2 separate regions of the Homo sapiens genome follow, and region 2 is linked to region 1. Evidence: promoter capture Hi-C in 16 types of primary human blood cells and fetal thymus (Javierre and others, 2016). All regions are on one chromosome and are shown on one strand. The core of a region is centred on a gene start or on the middle of the fragment in contact, and the rest is flanking DNA. Distances in the headings are between cores, read along the strand shown.

Region 1 (4,068 bases), core at 782-3,281:
AGTGATTTTGGTATTGTTGCAGTATCCTCTCCAGGTGGAACTTGAGTATATTCATTCACTTGCTCCTAACCAAGTGAAAATTGGTTATATTAACCTTTTTTTTTTTTTTTGAGATGTAGTCTCGCTGTCTCCCAGGCTGGAGTGCAGGGGTGCGATCTCCGCTCACTGCCACCTCTGCCTCCTGGGTTCAAGGGATTCTCCTGCCTCAGCCTCTCCAGTAGCTGGGATTACAAGCGCCTGCCACCATGCCCAGCTAATTTTTGTATTTTTAGTAGAGACGGGGTTTTGCCATGTTGGCCAGGCTGGTCTTGAACCCCTGACCTCAGGTGATCCGCCCGCCTCGACCTCCCAAAGAGCTAGGATTACAGGCGTGAGCCATTGCACCCAGCCATATTAATCTTTTAAGGAAGGTTCTAGCCTGCTTCCCCAGGGAGCTTTTAAAACTTGTCTGGCATCACCCTCCCCGGAGTTTTGGATGATACTTTTCCAACCCCTGCCCCTGAGATTCCAAGTTGTATTTGTAGTCAGGGCTGAAAAACACTAGAGACTTAATGGTACGAGTTTAGACTCAGAAGAACTGCATGTTTTCTTTGCAGATCTTTTTTTTTTTTTTCAGACGGAATCTCACTCTGTCACCCAGGCTGCAGTGCAGTGGTGCGATCCCGGCTCACTGCAACCTCTGCTTCCCGGATTCAAGCAATTCTCCTGCCTCAGCCTCCCAAGTAGCTGGGATTACAGGCATATGCCACCATGCCCGGCTAATTTTTTTGTATTTTTAGTAGAAACGAGGTTTCACCATATTGGCCAGGCTGGTCTCGAACTCCTGACCTTGTGATCCACCCACCTCCGACCTCCCAAAGAGCTAGGATTACAGGTGTGAGCCACCGCGCCCAGCCATTCTTTGTAGATCTTAACAGTTCCATTTAGTTGAGTATCTTAAGGGTTTTTGGTGTTTTTTCCTCCAAAAAGTGAATCTTCACCAGAGAACTTCTGTTTTTGTCTTTTTTTTTTTTTTTTTAAAGCAAAGACTTTAATGTGCAAGTTAGTAAATGGTTTGAGGGTCTGGTATTGCACTCGGCCTTCAATACGTTAGCAATAACTACCCACATGTGATCTATTTAGAAGCAGTGTTTGAAAGCACCAATGTCACCCCATCTGCTTTTTTGTAGTTTTTTTTTGTTTGTTTGTTTTTGAGACAGAGTCTCGGTCTGTCTCCAGGCCGCAGTGCAGTGGCGCGATCTCGCCTCACTGCAACCTCCGCCTCCCAGATTCAAGCGATTCTCCTGCCTCAGCCTCCCGAGTAGCTGGGACTACAGGCGCGCGCCACCACACCCAGCTAATTTTCGTATTTTTAGTAAAGACGAGGTTTCACCATGTTGGCCAGGATGGTCTCGATCTCTTGACCTCGTGATCCGCCCGCCTCGGCCTCTCAAAGTGCTGGGATTACAGGCGTGAGCTGCTGCGCCCGGACTAACTTTTTTTTAAAGCTGAGGAAATGAGAGAAGGGGAATAAACTTTGTGTAGCTACAAACAGGATGGCAAAATTAAATTTCAAAGAACGGGCGGGGAAGGTTTCAGATGCAATGGCTTCTTATTCCTTCTTTTGACTGACCCGCGCCTTCTCCGCCTCCCTTTCTCCTCGCGTCACCCGCACCAGCGGCTGGGATGCGGCGCGCGTTCCGTCTTTCCGTATGGAAACATGGCGCCTAGGGGCGGGCCATCCCCAGCTTCGAGCCACCGCCAGCTGAGACTCATCGGCGGGCACTCGGCCATGCCTCTCGCGTTTCCGTACGAAAACATGGCGCCTCACTGCGTGCGGCGGGCGACTCTTGGCTGGGAGCCACTGGCCACGGAGCCCCCTGAGCGGTCATCGGCCATGTTTTCCACCTCTCCCTGAGGAAACACGGCGCCGCCCAGCTGCGAGTCACCGCTTACTGAACCCCTTCGGCAAGCAGGGGAAAGACCCTCCCGCCTTTCCGTACGAAGACATGGCGCTGCCCTATATTGGGCTGGCGCCTCCCGGCCAAGAGCAGTCTCCTCCTTCCTGATGCTGAGAAGCGGCCGCTCTGACCGCTGCCCACCCGAGTCGGGCTGGGAGGACCGCCCGCCGCGTGGCGAGGGATGCGGCCTCGGAGGGGCAGAGGCTGAACCGCCCCTGCCTGCCGCGCATCCCTCCGGCTTCCGCCGCGGCGCCAGCCCGCGCCTGATTCGCGGCGGGAGCGGCAGGAGGGAGAACGCCGACTCCGTGGCAGGTGAGAGCGGGAGCTGGGGCGGAGGCTGGCGGGGCCCGTCCGGGAGGCGCGCGGTCCAAGTCGCAGGCATCTCTTCGCCTCTTCCCGTCGGATCCCATCCCGGGATGTCGGGGGCAGGCGAGGAAGAGGCGGGGTCCGCGGGCGGGTGGAGCTCACCCCTCGAGGCTGTCCTCTCGGCGCGCCCGCGTCCTCCCCTACTCCCGGCCCTGCCACTCCCTCGCTGGCCTGAACAGCTGTTTACAACGGAATCCGGACGCCGGGCGCGAGTGGAGCTCAGTGCCAGAGGAGGGGATTCCCGGCGCCGGGGGACAGAGCCCCTTTTTTCTTTTGCCGAAAGACCCTTTCTGCTGGGGAGCCTCTTGTGTCCAGCCTAGGCCCGCGTGCAGCGCCGACGGATGACCGTCTTCTTGGCAAGTGCGAGGATCCTCCTCCCCTCGGCTCTCTTTTTAGACACAGTGGGGGTTGAATGGATGCGCGCGATATAAGCAAATTAAATGGTTCGTGGCCGCATCCTAGAGCCCTTTAATTAGAGTTACCATTTGTAGAAGGCCTGCCGTGCACAATCCCTCGTTTCATCTCCCCCCAAACCGAGCAGGTAGGTAGCTGTGTTTTACAGAGGAGGACACTGAAGTTACACAGCTAGTAAAGAGCCAGAATTGGGGCCCAGGTATGTCTGAAACCAACGCCCAGCCTCCCAGATACAGTGACATCACAGAGATGACGTAGGGATTCATCTCTATCAACAGATACTTGTGGGTGTCTATTTGGGGGATATACAGATGGAGCATAAGTGGGGAATATGACTGGTCCTGGCTCTTAAGAAGTTCGAAATCTAGGTGGGGAATTTTAAAATAAAAACTAGCACTTTTACCATCTGGCCCCAACGCATCTTTCCATCATCTCTAGCCACTTCCTTTTCTCATTTTCTTGTGCCTTGGCTTCTGCCCTCTGAGTGAAATGCCCTCCTTTTCACCTCCTCTCCCCCTCCTCTCCCCCTCCAGACATGTTTTAACTAGGTGAAATCCTACTCCTTTTAAAGATCAGTTCAAATGTCATCTTTTCTGGGAAGGTTTTCTCAATCTCCTCCCAGGCAGAGTTAGTTTCTTCCTCTGCTATATTCCCTGGGCAATTTCATAATGCCACTTAAGTTTCATTATGGCTCCTTGTAAGCCTGTCTGCCTCCCCCTCTAGACTATGTATTTGCATCTTTCTATTTAAATAAGCACGCTTTGAATTGAATTTAAGGCAGTGACAAATGCCAAATGTCAACTAGCCAGCCCTGCAGGAGTTGAGAAAGGTGCAATCACTGGTGAGGTCCGGGAAGTGTCCTGGGAAGAGACAGGACTTGAACTCAATCTTAAGGATGGGGTTAGTTTACTAAGCTGAGCATTAGAGACCTAGAAATCCTCCCTTTCCTCCTCACTGCACAGAATGAATTACTTCATCCCTCCTGGGCTCCTTCTCAGCATGTGAAGATAATAAAATTAGCAGCGTTTTGTTTGTCGTTTCTCACAGAATATGCTGGTAATGTTATCCTTTGGATCTTGGAGCATTTCCTGACCCTAATAGGATTTAGGACACAGAGGAGATGGGTGTCTCCAGTGGGGTGTTGGAAGCTAAGATGGGTCTCGAAAGGGAAAATACATGAAAACAACTTTCATATTAATACAGGCCTGGGCCAGGTGCAGTGGCTCACGCCTATAATCCCAGCACTTTGGGAGGCTGAGGCGGGCGGATCACTAGAGGTCAGGAGTTCGAGACAAGCCTGGCCAACATAGTGAAACCCCATCTCTACTAAAAATACGAAAATTAGCGA
Region 2 (3,957 bases), core at 857-3,356, 710 kb after region 1:
TGTGGTACAGCTTGTGTATTCATATACCCGACCTGGGCTGATGATTGGAAATTCACCTGCAGGGAAAACAGTAACAATAAACCAAAGTATAAAATTCATTTCTTTATTACAATAAATAAGGTATGGTCTCCATGGCATTATGTAAACTATATAATAGTAAATGCACAGTTAGAAAAAAAAATTCCAAAAGAAAATGTAACAAAATGTTAACAGTGATAGGACAATGAGTAGGTATTTTATTCCTCTTGACTTTTTTTTTTTTTTTGAGACAGAGTCTTGCTCTGTTGCCCACGCTGGAGTGCAGTGGCGTGATCTCAGCTCACTGCAAACTCCACCTCCTGGGCTCAAGCTATTCTCCCACCTCAGCCTCCTGAGTAACTGGGATTACAAGCACCTGCCATGATGCCCAGCTCATTTTTGTATTTTTAGTAGAGGCAGGGTTTTGCCACATTGGCCAGGCTGGTCTCAAACTCCTGACCTCAGGTGATCCGCCCACCTTGGCCTCCCAAAGTTCTGGGATATCAGGCGTGAGCCACTGCGCTTAGCCCTCTCAACATTTTTTTAATGTATTCCTCAAATTCCCTACAATGTAGAAAGTGGGAAGTATCTAGTAAAAAAAAAAAAAAAAACAGAACAGGCATGTTTCTTTTTCAAAAAGCTTTGAGGCATTGAAGACACAACCTTTAAGACATGAGTAATAAAAAGCATCACAGACACCAGTTCAAACAAAGATAAGGTAATCTAAATATTTTTAAAGTAGCAAGAAACAAAAACATAAAATTGTGAAGATGCATCCTAAGCATTCAGACCAGACAAAATGGCACTCACAAGGGAGAGTCCTTATACCACTGGACCAAATGGCAGAAAAAGAACTGTGGCTTTAATAAAGCCTCTCTCTTAGCGCTAGATCCAGAAAAAATTCCTGGACTGAAGCCCAGGAAAAAAATTTGTTAAGTAAACATGTAGATCTATCCATGGCAATGAATTTAGAAAACGTTAAACTGAATTCTGTATATGCTTAGAACTGATAACAGAAGTACATAGCATAAATATGTTATTTTCCTGGAGCATATATTCAAACCTGAAGCATCTGAGGGCTCAGAGACTTCAGATAATCATAATCTTTAAGAAAGCCAAATGACAATGGTAACCAGAATTAAAGTGACTGAAATCTACAAACAATAAAAATTCATGCCATTAATTTTAACATTTCCCCCCAAGCTTCAAAAAACATGACGAATACAAAATTTATTTCCCCCTTTCTGCCCTATGTGTTCTAACCCACAACATACAATGAATAATGAACCAGTTAAAAAAAATAAAATAAAATCCACAAAAAGGGAAATCAATCCCTGAATAATTAAGTTTGCTATTATTTCAGAAAAGTTAATGCTTAAGGGATTAAATTAATAGGATAACGACCTTTATACATTTATATGTTATATTTAGGATGCAAAGTCTAACATTTCTTCTAAGGAATTAATGTATAAACCTAAATCTTGGGTTCCATACCAACTACTCCAGGTCCTTGAACTTCTTCCACGTCACCCTTAGCATTTGTTATTCTCCAATAGCGACTGTCCAACTGACAGGCCTTCTCAGGAAGTGCATCTTTTGACATTTCAATCCTAGAGAAGGGAATGGGGTGGTAGAGACAAAAATCTGGCTTCTTTGTTTCTTTGGTTTAAGAGATACAGTATTCAGGCTAATACTATGAAGAAAAATTTCCAAAAAATTAAGAAACCCAACCCAAAGTCCATGTTAGCCATCTATTTTTCTAAGTTCTCAAAGATACTGGCTTCATTAACTTGATCCCCCTACAAAAATGCTTTCACTCAACTTATGCATTTGACTGTCAGTGTGGATCAACAACAGAAAGGGCAACATAAAATGTGCAACATAATGGTGACAACAATCTTTCGCTGTTCAAATAAAGATCAATTTGGCAAATGCTTTCTAGAAAATAGTGCCATGAAAAACTTCCGGAGAACTGAAAGTCTCTCTTTAACTGCATGAGACTATACAACCCATTTCCCTTTTTTCCATTAGTTTCTAGACAGTTTAAGACAAGATGTCACCAGTTACTGGGATTACACTTTTTTTTTTTTTTTTTGAGACAGGGTCTCACTCTGCCACCCAGGCTGGAGTGCACTGGTGTAATCTTGGGCTCACTGCAGCCTTGACCTCCTAGGCTGAAGCCATTCTTCCGCCTCAGCTCCTCTAGTAGCTGGGGACTACAGGCATGTGCCACCACACCTGGCTAATTTTTTTAAAAATTTTTGTAGGACAAGGTCTCACTATGTTGTCCAGGCTGGTCTTGAACTCCCAAACTCAAGCAATCCTCTCACCTTAGCCTCCCAAAGTGCTGCGATTATAGGCGTGGGCCACCGTGTCCAGCCTGGGATTACACTTTGACTCTGTTTCCCAATGCTATCACTTTCCCCTTTCCCTAGGAATCTGGTGTCTCTTATTTTCACTTTGAGTACCCTATAAGTATGTGTTGGTATTTTTATTTTGAGCACATCTCAATCCTAGGCAGGATCTAAATCAAACAAGTAAACGACAAATATCTATACATGTGTATTTGGATATAGCAAAGGTTGCATACAGTATCTAAATCCTAGGATGCTTCCTGGTAGTTATATTTTACTCAAATACTTCCAGTATGCATATATGCATGTATGTGTATTTTAAAATATACTTATATATTACATAAAATATATAAAAATATATTTTAAAGCACAGTATCCTTAATCCCTTAGGGCAATGAGTTATCTTTGTGTCATAGCACAGAATACTTCTAACTAACGTAAATTTAAAATATTTGCTTCTTATTTAATAAAATTCAATGTCTAACACTATGTCTGACATCCATGAAGCACTCAATACACATTTATTAGATTTTTTAATTGAATATAAATAGGCCAGATGAAATTTAAAATGCATGACTTTATTATGGCAATTTGAGAGCTTCTAGAATGCATTACAACTTGAAGCTTTAATGACGACTACAACTTAGTGGTCCATTTCCACAGTACCTGGCACAATACTTGATACCCAGTATATTTTCAAGAAATAACTTAACTTAGAGGTTAATATGAAGTCAAAGTCCTCCATGAACACTATCTTGTAGAAAATGTATCCACCTTCCTCCAAACTTCAGCAAGTTCTTTCAAAATGTGTCTTACATATCATGTCAAATGGGACAATAGCAACATGTCCATTGGATATATCCCACCATTAACTGAAAGGTGACCCCATTTAAAATTCTCACCTGATTCGGTATGTGAAGAAATAGTGGGGTGGATGTACAGAGCTAAGTTCTGGCAGAAACGATGTGGAAACTGACACAGTAATATCCCCAGTTGTTGCTACACATTCTGGATCGTGAACATATCTAGGTAATTTAAAAATTAAACATTTTAAAATCAACTACAGGATTTAAAAGATACGATGCAAAATAGGTTATACTTTAGGACAAAAAATTTAAATCATATTTCAGACCCAGAAAAGTTCAATAATATTTGGGTATAGTCCTATTAAACTTTGAAGGAAACTAGAAACAAACTACAAAACCTTGGTGACTCTGGATCAGTAATGACAGCAATCAAGGTTCAATGATCAGTGGTTCAAATAACGGATTGGTAATTAGCTTGGAAACAAAAATGAGCTTATTCAGTTTCCAGGGCTAAGGAAACTTTTGGGACATCTGAAAACCCAGCTGCATGATGTCCAATGCTAAATGATGGCTCTGACAATAAAAATGTGCAAGTATGCTGTTCTCAGAAGCCTCTAATGTATAATCAATCTATCATTTCTGCCAACCAGGCTATTATGAACCAGTATTACCTCCAGTACTCCCTACAATACCTGAATGTTCCATTTAGAGATAATAAATATTTGCCAGGAATTAACAGTTACCGACTTGCTATTCATAATAAATCTATCAGTTGCCAA

The links. The method cuts DNA at HindIII sites, captures the fragments that hold promoters and counts their contacts. A CHiCAGO score of 5 or more calls a contact.
Region 2: a contact is called between a fragment that was not itself captured here and the fragment with the promoter of TCP11L1 in region 1, in 1 of 17 cell types (erythroblasts). The highest score is 5.1, in erythroblasts.

The regions. Positions count from the first base shown.
Region 1 is chr11:33,037,541-33,041,608 of GRCh38, forward strand. TCP11L1 (t-complex 11 like 1) reads left to right here and starts at 2,032. Exons shown (of 10, transcript NM_018393.4): 1 at 2,032-2,252. RefSeq lists enhancers at 1,435-1,982, 1,703-2,052, 2,533-2,852 and a silencer at 2,033-2,432. The HindIII fragment of the contact is 10,463 bases long and covers 1-4,068 here.
Region 2 is chr11:33,747,265-33,751,221 of GRCh38, forward strand. FBXO3 (F-box protein 3) reads right to left here. Exons shown (of 11, transcript NM_012175.4): 8 at 3,275-3,397; 9 at 1,513-1,628; 10 at 1-56. Among named protein-coding and RNA genes, the nearest start is that of CD59, 13 kb to the left of the region's middle. The HindIII fragment of the contact is 1,775 bases long and covers 1,220-2,994 here.